3 separate regions of the Homo sapiens genome follow, and regions 1 and 2 are each linked to region 3. The links are contacts of gene promoters, found by promoter capture Hi-C in blood cells and fetal thymus (Javierre and others, 2016). All regions are on one chromosome and are shown on one strand. The core of a region is centred on a gene start or on the middle of the fragment in contact, and the rest is flanking DNA. Distances in the headings are between cores, read along the strand shown. Region 1 overlaps LINC01934 (long intergenic non-protein coding RNA 1934). Region 2 overlaps LINC01934 (long intergenic non-protein coding RNA 1934). Region 3 holds the start of ITGA4 (integrin subunit alpha 4).

Region 1 (4,070 bases), core at 624-3,123, 66 kb before region 3:
TTTGTCTAGTCCAGCTTCTTTTGGAGACTTAAATTAATATTCATTTTGCGATCCACTTCAATTGTACTGTTTCCTCAAACCTTGCCCAACAAATGTTAACAAAAATGTTTTTCAATGAAATCTACTCACTAATATAAAAAAAACCCAGAAAACAATAAACCAAAAAAAGTAGCTTGAAGTTTTACTATATTCATTTATAATGATTACTCAGAAAAACAGTATTAAAAACAAATTAATATGTGCCCAAAAGGGATAAAAGCTTCACAAATGTGTTTATAATCTAAAAGAAGATGACAGACACAATGTATGTGAGTTTTAAGAAAAGGAAAAGAAAGAAAAAGAAAATTGCCATCAGATTTATTTAAGGTATGAGGCATCAAGGTAACTCTAGGGCCAGGTAGACTCAAATTCAAGATATTCTAGTCTTCGGCTTATTATCTTTGGTGCAGTAACTACAAACTTATTCCTGGTGCTATGTTTATTTGTTAAAATTCTTCTGTTTTATGAATTACCTGGATTTTTAACTTCTTATTTTCTATCATATTTATCTAAAACACCAATAATATCCTGCCTCCTAAGTTTTTCTTTGAGTTCTGCTGCTTTTCTTATATATTTTATGTAAGAATAAAACTCTGAATTAAATAAATACATTTAAAATGGAAACTTAAAATTCCCTACAGAAAAAAATGCTATTTTAATAAAAATATAAATAATGTGTCAAAGAAAAATTCTATTTTAAGTTAATTTGCATCCTTTGGATATTGGGAAACTGATCTTTGGTTTCAGCTTTAATTCTTACAGGAAGCAAATGACTATATTTATATAACATTTTTCAATATGCTTAATTGCTCCAGTTGGAGATTCTTGTATTTCACTAATGAATTACTTTTCTATTGTGAAGAAATGTCTCTCTCAAAGGACAATCATTTGTTACACCTGAGCCTTCCTGGTCCCAGTTGTGCCACATGCTGCTTAATAATTTGCAATGATTTAGGAAGATTGCCATAACCACTCAATTACGTAAACAACAGCTTTGGATGCAATCTATATAGCATGAGACACATCCTTAGCCCACATTTAGAACTGTCTTGTTAATTATATAGAATCCAGCAACCACTAGGTTCTGAGTATTTCACAGACAGCAGGTAACCTGTCCTAGAGGACTAAAAGTAGATGCTCATTTTCTTTGGCCTGTCTAGGCAGCTGCAGCATAACCATACAGTGGAATATAGCAGTGGGAAAAAAGAAGTCAACTAAGGTTTAGGAAACCTGATTTCTAATTCTGGCTCTATTGCTTTTTAGGTTTTGACTCTCAGGTAATGATATTCTCTGACCTTCAGTATTCTTCCCTTCATAGAATGTGTGCTACAGCTGATAGTTTCTTAGACATTTGCCTAATCAATGGCCCATTTCTACGTAACCTAAATTAAAGGTTTAAGATATTTTGCAAATTGTACCAAAATGTTTATAAAAAGTCTTAGTAACTTATTTTTATGCAGCATTCTGAAACAACAAGATGAAAAATCAGTCAATCACTGTAAGACAGGGTAGCTCATTTAAAATTGTGATTGTCAAAAATGTTAATTACTTCTGGGCCAATGAGATAGAATTGCTAGGCAATTTACTTTAAGTAACATAGCTTTGTGGCCAGAATTAACCTTTCTATAAGGAAAAGAGACACATGTCCATGTGTCCAGGTAATGAAATTTGAAGGCCAGGTAATATGAGTGAGTTCTGAAAATAAGTTTTACTGAATTCGCAATTATACCTTGGACAGGTCCTACACAATTAAGGTGTAAAATATAAACCCCTTCTGGTTATACTTTAGACTGTTGAAAATAAGTACAGTGTATTAAAAATATATAGTTATCTAAATAAATGAATTATCTTGGTACATAAATAAAACATTCAGATTTAAAGTAAATCCTTTTAGCTTCATTTATTTATCATATCATTTCACTAATAATCTACTTGTGAAATTCAGTGTTATCTTCATATCAAATTTTTTGCCCTTCATAAGTAAATGAGTATTAATTTACAAAGACTAAAATGTCTAGGGAAATATGACTATACAATCCTCTTTACCTAGTACCTAGTATAGTGCAATAGAAATTTGAAATGTTTCCCGATGCTACTCTGCACAGTGCAAAGATCATAAATTTTGGGGTATATCTAGTTTTGTTCTCAGATAATTTCCGATGGTTACTGGGTAATCCATTTAGACTTTCTAGGATGCTTTTCCCCATGTGTAAAAACAGGCATAATAATATTATCCATGACCTTTTCAATGTGTAATAATATGACTCATTCATTTTCAGGATAGTATGTGTCTATGCACATTCATTCAAGTAAATTACTATTCCTATGTCTATATTCATCCCTTAAGAACAAGAAGGGCATTTGCTAATTTGTTCAGTAATAGGAAGGGGAATGTAGGAAGAGTGGAAGAACAAAACACCATTTTGCAATTTTTCAGCAGGAACACTGTTTCGTGATATCTGGATTGCAACGAGAGGACTAGAAGTCAAGGGGCTAGAATTATCTGAAGGGTCACTCTCGTATGTCTAGAGTTTAATCCTAGCCATCAGTTGGAGGCCAAACTTCTTCACAAGATGGCTGGGCATCAAGAGCAAATAGACAGAGAGAGAGGGGCTATGTATGTGCACAGTAGATGAAGCTATATTGCGTTTTATTACTTAGACTTCTGCTACATTCTATGAGTAGAAGCAGTTATAAAGGTCACCTAGGTTCAAAGGGAGGGGACATGGATCCCATCTCTCAATGGAGGAGTGTTGATGTCACGTTGTAAGAAAAACATGTGGCATGGGTTATATATTGCTACCATCTTCGCAAAACAATATCTGCTCAAGCCAGTATAAGGGCTTTTAATTTATATCACCAAAGTGAACTTCAGTAATAGTATAAGATTTGATTTATATCTTTCCCTGTCTAATGATAGGAAAAATTGTATTTCACTGTTGTTTCTTTTTATAATTAAATATACCAAACATTGTTTCACAAGTTATTTGCCACTTATATTTTTTCATGATTAAAAAAATTATTTGACATAATCAGTATGCTCCTGTGGGTATTCACCTGCTTAATAACAGTTTATAAAACATCTTCAAATATTACACTAAGGAAACAACAGTTTCTCAGTTTTGTTGAAAATATTTCCCCTGGTGTGCCATTTTATTTTCACTTTGTTTTATTGCATTATTTATTGTTTATAAACTTTTTAATATGGTTCCTATATTATATACCATGCTTATGATGTGTTCCTCATCCCAGGATTATAAAAATAATTTTTACTTGTATGCTAACTTTGTTCTTTATAAATTATATCAAAATAAATTCTATATAAATTAAATATAAGATCTAACATTTTTCAGGCTTTTAACTGTTCAGCTTCATTTGTTGAAGTAATCAAAATAACAACTAGTTTTAAAAATAGTAGTATCCAAAGAAAACAGACATTATCTGTTGAATAAGCTTATACCTCCTCTACCAGTTAGAAATATTAAAATTATATATTGATTCATATATATACTTGAGTCTCTTTCTGGATGCTTTATCATGGATCTCTCCCGTAATTCACTATCACTTTTTTAAATCATTACAGTATAAAAGTACATTTTAATATCTTAAAAGCCCCCCTCTGAACGTGGTTTGTAATTCATGAAGAGCTTTTCAATAATCAGTGCCCAACCTACTTCCTCCCTGATGATCTCATTCAGGCTCATGTCCATAGCAACAACTTCCTATTTATATCTCCAGGCCACATCTCTCCTGTGAGCCTTAAACTCTATTACCCACTGGAAGGTTGAACATGTCTCTGTTTCAACTGGTCAAAACTGAGCCCTTGAATATTTTTCCCAAGTCTCCTCCTCCTCCAGTCTTCTTTATTCAAATAAAGGGCACTATACCAGCTAATCAGATACCAAAATGAAAGTGAAAGTTAACATCATTGTAGCCAATCTTTACATGAGAGTAAAAATGGTTAAATTCTTGTAATAGAAAATTAAAATGGGGCTGGGCACGGTGGCTCACACCTGTAATCCCAGCACTTT
Region 2 (3,799 bases), core at 202-2,701, 87 kb before region 3:
TTTAAAAATTAAAAATTTCCAAAAATAGAAAAAAGCTTATAGAATAAAGACATAAAGAAAGAATATATTTTTGTATACTCATACAATGTGTTTGTGCTTTAAGCTAAGTGTTATTACAAAAGAGTCAAAGAGTTTTTTAAAAATTAAAAACGTATAGAGTAAAAAAGAGTAAGCTAAGGCTAATTTATCACTGAAGAAAGAAAAAATTTTTAATGTATTATAGTCTAAGTGTAGAGTGTTTATAAATTCTACAGTAATGTGCAATAATATCCTAGGCCTTCATATTCACTCATTACTCACTAACTCACCCAGAGCAACTTACAGTTCTGCAAGCTCCATTCATGGTGTGTCCTATGTAGATGTACTATTTTTAATCTTTTATACCATGTTTTTACTGTACCTTTTCTATGTTTAGGTATGTTTAGATACACAAATACTTACCATTGTGTTACAGCTGCCTACAGTATTCAGTATAGTAACATGCTGTATAGGTTTGTAACCTAGGAGCAATAGACTATACCATATAACTTATGTGTATAGTAGGCTATCACACCTGGGTTTGTGTGAGTACACTCTGTGATGTTCACACAATGACAAGATCACCCTAACAACACATTTCTCAGAACAGAGCCCCATTGTTAAGTGGCATGTGGCTGTATGTGCATATATATAAATATATATATATACACACACACACACACACACACACACACACACACTGAAGTGTGGTGTAGGTATGGTAATTAAGTTAAAAGCCTGTAAAAAAAGAACCTTGAACAGTGACTGGCATAAAGCTTTCACTAAATGGTAATAGTACCATTATTATCATTATGCCCTGTCACATGTGGTCCAGGCCCACTAAGGTCTACCACTCTTACAGTTTCTAAAGAGAAGCCCTGAAGGTCATACAGCTCTTCCCAGGAATAGCAAAACGGCAATAAAATTCCCTCTTCTATCACCTTGAATTAGATTCATGTAATAGAAAACCCATACTAATAGTGACTTTAAAAAGATAAAAGTTTCTCTCTCTCTCGCATACAAGTCATCTGGAGTTAGGTGGTCCAGGCTGGAGTGACAGAAACAAAGGCATCAGAAATCCACACCATCCTTCTCATTTTTTGTCTCTCATTCCATTCTCAAGTTTACCTCATAATTCCAGATGGCAACCAGAGCCCCATTCATCACATCTGCAGTCCAAACATCAGGAAGAAGGGACAAAAGTTAAGTATCCCTGCTGAGTCAGCTGACTTTAAGCAGGCTACCAAAAGACTGTTTCGTCTCATGGACCAGGAGTTAGTAATTTGGACACACCTAACTGTAAGGAAGGAAGAAAAATGTAATCCTTAGGTTGTTTGCATTCCTATGCCAAATGAAAATTTGTTCCTGAGGAAGAAGAGAAGAATGGATACTAGAAGGCACCTAGCAGTTTCAGGCCCTTCTTCACTCTTGGTGGGGAAGGTAAGGAGTTATATGTGAGCACAGATATATATCCTTGAACTGCTAAAATGCTGATCGTGGGCCCAAATGTGGGCCACAGGCTGGCCCTACAAGCCATCCACTTTTACTGGTTTAATTGACCCAGGAATAAAAGGGTTATAGAGGAATGTTCATAATATAAAGAGGAAACCAGAAGATTGTCTGCTTTATAAATCAATGACCGCTTTGTACCCTTTAGCAATTCCATGATGTGGCTTTTTCTCTATATTTCTTAGAGCATTTGGCCTTACTGACCCTTGACAAGTTATAAATTAGCCCATTCATCCTAAAGAGAAAAAGCGATACCCATTCTCATATAGTACCTTTTATATTTCTTTATTTTAAATGTTATAACTTTTCAAAAGAATGTATTTTCTCATACAATTATGTTGTCAGCTTATTGAAAGTATCCATAGACTTAAGAATACATATTAGCCAATGTGGTTGTAAAATATCTTCCATGAGAATTTTTTCTAAATTTTTATGAGTACTAGAAATTGAACTTAATTCTTCTTAACTGAATAAACATAAGCAAATTGTTGCTTCATTTTGAGTCGAACATATAATCTGAAAGCAGAAAATTCGATTCTAACTTGCTCCTAAAGGATATTTGAGATTAGGAAGAAGTCATAAAAGCTTATCTTATTTAATTATTGAGAAAAACTTTTAACATTTTACTATTTTTGTTTAGCCTATGTAAATATCTGCAAACTACCTTTTGAGGAAGAATTGATGCATTTAAAAAATTCGTTAGGCCTAATGATCTCAAATTAACAATTACTCAAGGACTATAGATTAATAAATGAGATACATTGTGAAAATGATTTATAAGATGAAGAACAATATACATATTCTTAGTTCTTGTTATAATCATGTTGGAAATTACTACGTTCATTTCATATTAACCTAATGAGAACAGAAGCTGTGAATATGAGTGAAATGAAAAAATATAACAGCCTATTAGGCTGTTTCCACAAAGGACATGATGGAATCATTAAAACTGTTTGTATATGAAGATCCAAAGATGGGGAGGGAAAAAGACCATCACCCTACAATGGAAGTCAGGTTAACAGGCACATATGAACAAAGGGCAATTGACAGCGAAGCAAACCCCATAAAGAATGAAGAGATCATGAGTTCAGAAGTCAAAGGCCTTCACTAAAAACAGGGTCCCTTTGCTTCCCAGGGCTCCACCACCCTCCCTCCAGTTCCCTGACAAAGGGCTGTTCTTACACTTGCCTACCACTCTTTTATGACCCCACTTCCTCCCTGAAACTTAGTCTGAACTCCCTTTTCAAAGGGAAAATGTTTTGCTTCCCAGAATCTTTCTCAACCTAGGTGTGCAGGCTAGAAATTCTCTAGGAACTTATGTTTTGGCTCAGAGAATTCACATATTTTAGAAAAGCCCATTCTATGCTAGGAAAACTATTTGAAGTCTCAAAATTCGATGAAGACTGATACTGTCAGATGCTTGGAAATAGGCGGAAAATTTTCTGGGTCCTGAGACACCTAATTCTCTACCCTTTAGAAACCTCATCTAGTCAATAAAAATTTAATTGAAACTGAAAAAGTAGAACATGAAATTTTGAATAAATCTAACTCAGGGCCTTTCAGATGTTGACTGGGCCAAAAGCAAACATTTTCTAATGAGGAAAACCACATCCTTCATATAACAAAGGCTGTTTTCAAAAACCAGAGGACCAGCATGGTTAAATAGACCATCTCAGACAGCTGTTCAAGTTCAACAGTGAAATAATTAGACATTCCACACTGCTGCCATTTGATATGAGGTGTCCAGACAAGGTCTTTGAGGCAGGGAGACAAGGGTCGCTAACAGAAGACACAATGAGAAAAAAAAAAAAAATGGTGTGAATGGAATGAGTAATACTGAATGGAATTAAGATTCTGCACTTGCTTCACCAAAGATTTATTCCCAAAAAATCCCAAACCTAAATAAAGTAAGGCCTGGAATGCTGGAAAGCTTTCAGAGCTGGGAATGTGTGTGAGGCTGCCAAATGGGTCATTGTTTCTAAAAATGATATGTCCCAAGATGACAGCAAACTTGTTTTTTCAGACAACTGGCATTCGTCTGTGTGATTGTACCAGCACTTCCTTCTTTCTTGATTTGTCCAGAATCTGTTCTGTCCTGACAGGGCTGGAAAGTAATCCATATGTGTTGCCAAATTGAAGACTATGATTGTTTGAGGGTTTTTGAATATTATGAATATAATTTTCATTTGGTATATGCTACTATAATATTTAGTGAAGGAAGAAGAAATAGGTCAGCTTGAGCATATCATTCAGCAGGCATTTGAGAAACTTC
Region 3 (3,696 bases), core at 663-3,162:
TTTCATTTTTACAATAGATTTATCACACACTGTATTGACTTTTTCCAGTATAGAGTAAGAGAAAGTTAATATTCCTCATGTTTTGTCTGTTGACAGACTGAAAATAATTGCATTGAGTTTGGCTAGAATATCCTGTCATTCCATAAACATCTCAAACTCCACATGGCTAAAACTTAACCCATCCATGCCCCCATCTGCATGCACACATACATGCATATAACTTCATTTCTCAGTGTTTTTTTCTCCATGAATGGTAGCACCATTCTCTTTCAAGAAAGAGAAATACTTCCCCTTGGGATTATCCTATCTCTACTTATTGCTGCAGGGGCTTCCAAAATTAGGTTTTCTGTGTTCAGTCTTGCATTCACACTTCTGAAACCCAGAGCTGACCGAGACAAATTCTTCAACTTCCTGTCAGTCCCAACATAGATTTAAAATTCCTAACCTGGCTCATGAGGTTCACCATGTATTCCTGCTTCCCTAAGTCAGCCTCATATCACACCAACCTGTGTGTGGAGTGGCTAAATACTCTAGCCAGGCAAGCTCTCTCAGTTCTTCTACCTGGCTCCTCTGGAGCCCTCCTTATTGCTCATCCCATTCTTAGCCTGATTCAAGATTCCTGGTCCTTCAAATCTCTCTTTAAGTGTCCTTACCTGGATCTTTCTCTAGTTAGTACAAATTTTTCTATCTACCATTGGAGCGAACATTTTTTGAAACTTTGTATCAGTCCTGCCTTACTCTTGGTGGAATCCTGTGGTCCTAGTCAAGTGCCTGCTCCATGAATGTGCTGAATAAATGAATAAGCATTTTAATTGTGTATCTGTCATTAGTGTCAGATGTGTTATTTATTCCAGCATGGTTTTAGCACACAGACACACTCTTTGATGCAGACTTTTCTTTTCTTTTTACATATAGCAACAATAAAAAACTAGACTTTCATCTCCTGAAAATATCAGTCTAATAATCACCTATGGCTGTCTCTCTGGTTGCTGAAGGAAAAAAAAAAAAAAGGCAGGGCACACCTGGATTGCATTAGAATGAGACTCACTACCCAGTTCAGGTGTGTTGCGTTGTGGGTCTCCGGCACATTTCAGAGGCTCATTAGGACCCTGACCCCACACTGGGGTTTACACCCCTAAAAGCAGGTGTGTCCCGTGGCAACTGAGTGGGTGCGTGAAAAGGGGGGATCATCAATTACCAGCTGGAGCAATCCGAATCGGTTAAAGTGAATCAAGTCACAGTGCTTCCTTAACCCAACCTCTCTGTTGGGGTCAGCCACAGCCTAAACCGCCTGCCGTTCAGCCTGAGAGGCTGCTGCTAGCCTGCTCACGCATGCAGCCCGGGCTGCAGAGGAAGTGTGGGGAGGAAGGAAGTGGGTATAGAAGGGTGCTGAGATGTGGGTCTTGAAGAGAATAGCCATAACGTCTTTGTCACTAAAATGTTCCCCAGGGGCCTTCGGCGAGTCTTTTTGTTTGGTTTTTTGTTTTTAATCTGTGGCTCTTGATAATTTATCTAGTGGTTGCCTACACCTGAAAAACAAGACACAGTGTTTAACTATCAACGAAAGAACTGGACGGCTCCCCGCCGCAGTCCCACTCCCCGAGTTTGTGGCTGGCATTTGGGCCACGCCGGGCTGGGCGGTCACAGCGAGGGGCGCGCAGTTTGGGGTCACACAGCTCCGCTTCTAGGCCCCAACCACCGTTAAAAGGGGAAGCCCGTGCCCCATCAGGTCCGCTCTTGCTGAGCCCAGAGCCATCCCGCGCTCTGCGGGCTGGGAGGCCCGGGCCAGGACGCGAGTCCTGCGCAGCCGAGGTTCCCCAGCGCCCCCTGCAGCCGCGCGTAGGCAGAGACGGAGCCCGGCCCTGCGCCTCCGCACCACGCCCGGGACCCCACCCAGCGGCCCGTACCCGGAGAAGCAGCGCGAGCACCCGAAGCTCCCGGCTGGCGGCAGAAACCGGGAGTGGGGCCGGGCGAGTGCGCGGCATCCCAGGCCGGCCCGAACGCTCCGCCCGCGGTGGGCCGACTTCCCCTCCTCTTCCCTCTCTCCTTCCTTTAGCCCGCTGGCGCCGGACACGCTGCGCCTCATCTCTTGGGGCGTTCTTCCCCGTTGGCCAACCGTCGCATCCCGTGCAACTTTGGGGTAGTGGCCGTTTAGTGTTGAATGTTCCCCACCGAGAGCGCATGGCTTGGGAAGCGAGGCGCGAACCCGGCCCCCGAAGGGCCGCCGTCCGGGAGACGGTGATGCTGTTGCTGTGCCTGGGGGTCCCGACCGGCCGCCCCTACAACGTGGACACTGAGAGCGCGCTGCTTTACCAGGGCCCCCACAACACGCTGTTCGGCTACTCGGTCGTGCTGCACAGCCACGGGGCGAACCGATGGTGAGTAGAGTTGGACTGATGCGCCCTCAGCAGCTCAGAGCGGCGTGAGAATGGCGCCCTAGGGATTCCCTGCCCGATTCAAACTTTCCTCCCTCCCAAGGAGGCAGGAGGGAAACGCTGCGAGAGCCAGCTCGCTGGAAATCTGCCAGGGAAACTAACTTATCTTGGGGCGGCAGCGCCCCGGGTGCGTTATGGTGCAAGGTCTTGGAGCTTCGAGTCGGGGGTGGTGGGCGGAGGAGGAGGTGGGGAAGCTGCCCTGCTGCGGACTGCACATCTGTGGCGACAGGGAGCTCAGTGGGCAGCACAGCTCACGTCTGAGCGCACGTGCACGTGTCTCGCTTTAGGCTCCTAGTGGGTGCGCCCACTGCCAACTGGCTCGCCAACGCTTCAGTGATCAATCCCGGGGCGATTTACAGATGCAGGATCGGAAAGAATCCCGGCCAGACGTGCGAACAGCTCCAGCTGGGTGAGTTGGGTATGGGACCAGGAGTTAGTGACCTCCCGACCCCCCATGTGGACCCCACCATAGGGCAAGTCCTGGAAAGATTCACGTTGCCTGTTACTTCTGGTTTAAAGAGCATAAAGTTTTCAGTTTCAACTCCATCTCATCTTGCCTCCTTAATATAAAAGGGATTCCCTTTCTGTTAATATCGTTCTCCCTTTTCCTTATGGCAATGATTGCAGTACTCTGACAACTATGCTAGAGAAATTTCTTATGATACCTTCTCTTCATCTCTCCCCGTCTCTCCGTGTGTAAAGCACATTTTAGACTCTCTCAGCGTATTAAGGACAGGATCCAGCTAAGCCAAGACTTGAGAATTTTATTTCCATCTTTGACCTATCAACCCTCTTAAAGAACAGGCTAAGGAGCATATCAGGAATAGCAATTGGAATTGATCCCATATCCCGTCGTTTAACCTAAAGGCCTAAAAAAAAAAGTGATAGTTTTACTTACAATATACAATCTAAAAGAAAAGGAAAATTGGCATCTTCATCGTTAATGTAGTATAATTTTCCATTCCCAAAACCGTCATCCAAAACTCATGTTATATGGGTCCATCTTTTTGCAGTCATTTCTCAATGTCTCAGATTTGTGACAAGTTGAAAAATGTGTACTGATAGAGGGGAGAAGTTTCATGTTTCAAAGCCAAAGACAAGTTTGTTGCACACAGGCAAGTGGGGAAAGAGGAAGGAATATTAAATAACAAGACCTATCTTGTTCCAAAGTGTTACTGCTATATATATTGCTTAACTTTTTTCCCCTTAAAGCAACCCTGGGTCATGGTTGACATTGTTCCTAGTTTATGTATGAGGACTG

The links. The method cuts DNA at HindIII sites, captures the fragments that hold promoters and counts their contacts. A CHiCAGO score of 5 or more calls a contact.
Region 1: a contact is called between a fragment that was not itself captured here and the fragment with the promoter of ITGA4 in region 3, in 3 of 17 cell types (total CD8 T cells, erythroblasts and naive CD8 T cells). The highest score is 7.9, in total CD8 T cells.
Region 2: a fragment that was not itself captured here is called in contact with the fragment with the promoter of ITGA4 in region 3 in 3 of 17 cell types (erythroblasts, total CD8 T cells and naive CD8 T cells); the score reaches 12.3 in erythroblasts.

What each region holds. Positions count from the first base shown.
Region 1 is chr2:181,389,835-181,393,904 of GRCh38, forward strand. All of the region lies in intron 4 of LINC01934 (long intergenic non-protein coding RNA 1934), which reads left to right. Among named protein-coding and RNA genes, the nearest start is that of ITGA4, 66 kb to the right of the region's middle. The HindIII fragment of the contact is 3,233 bases long and covers 258-3,490 here.
Region 2 is chr2:181,368,659-181,372,457 of GRCh38, forward strand. All of the region lies in intron 4 of LINC01934 (long intergenic non-protein coding RNA 1934), which reads left to right. Among named protein-coding and RNA genes, the nearest start is that of MIR4437, 65 kb to the left of the region's middle. The HindIII fragment of the contact is 1,318 bases long and covers 793-2,110 here.
Region 3 is chr2:181,455,474-181,459,169 of GRCh38, forward strand. ITGA4 (integrin subunit alpha 4) reads left to right here and starts at 1,913. Exons shown (of 28, transcript NM_000885.6): 1 at 1,913-2,378; 2 at 2,723-2,844. The coding sequence starts at 2,182. RefSeq lists enhancers at 1,420-1,529, 2,250-2,439, 2,500-2,549, 2,910-2,959 and a silencer at 1,710-2,099. The HindIII fragment of the contact is 9,740 bases long and covers 1-3,696 here.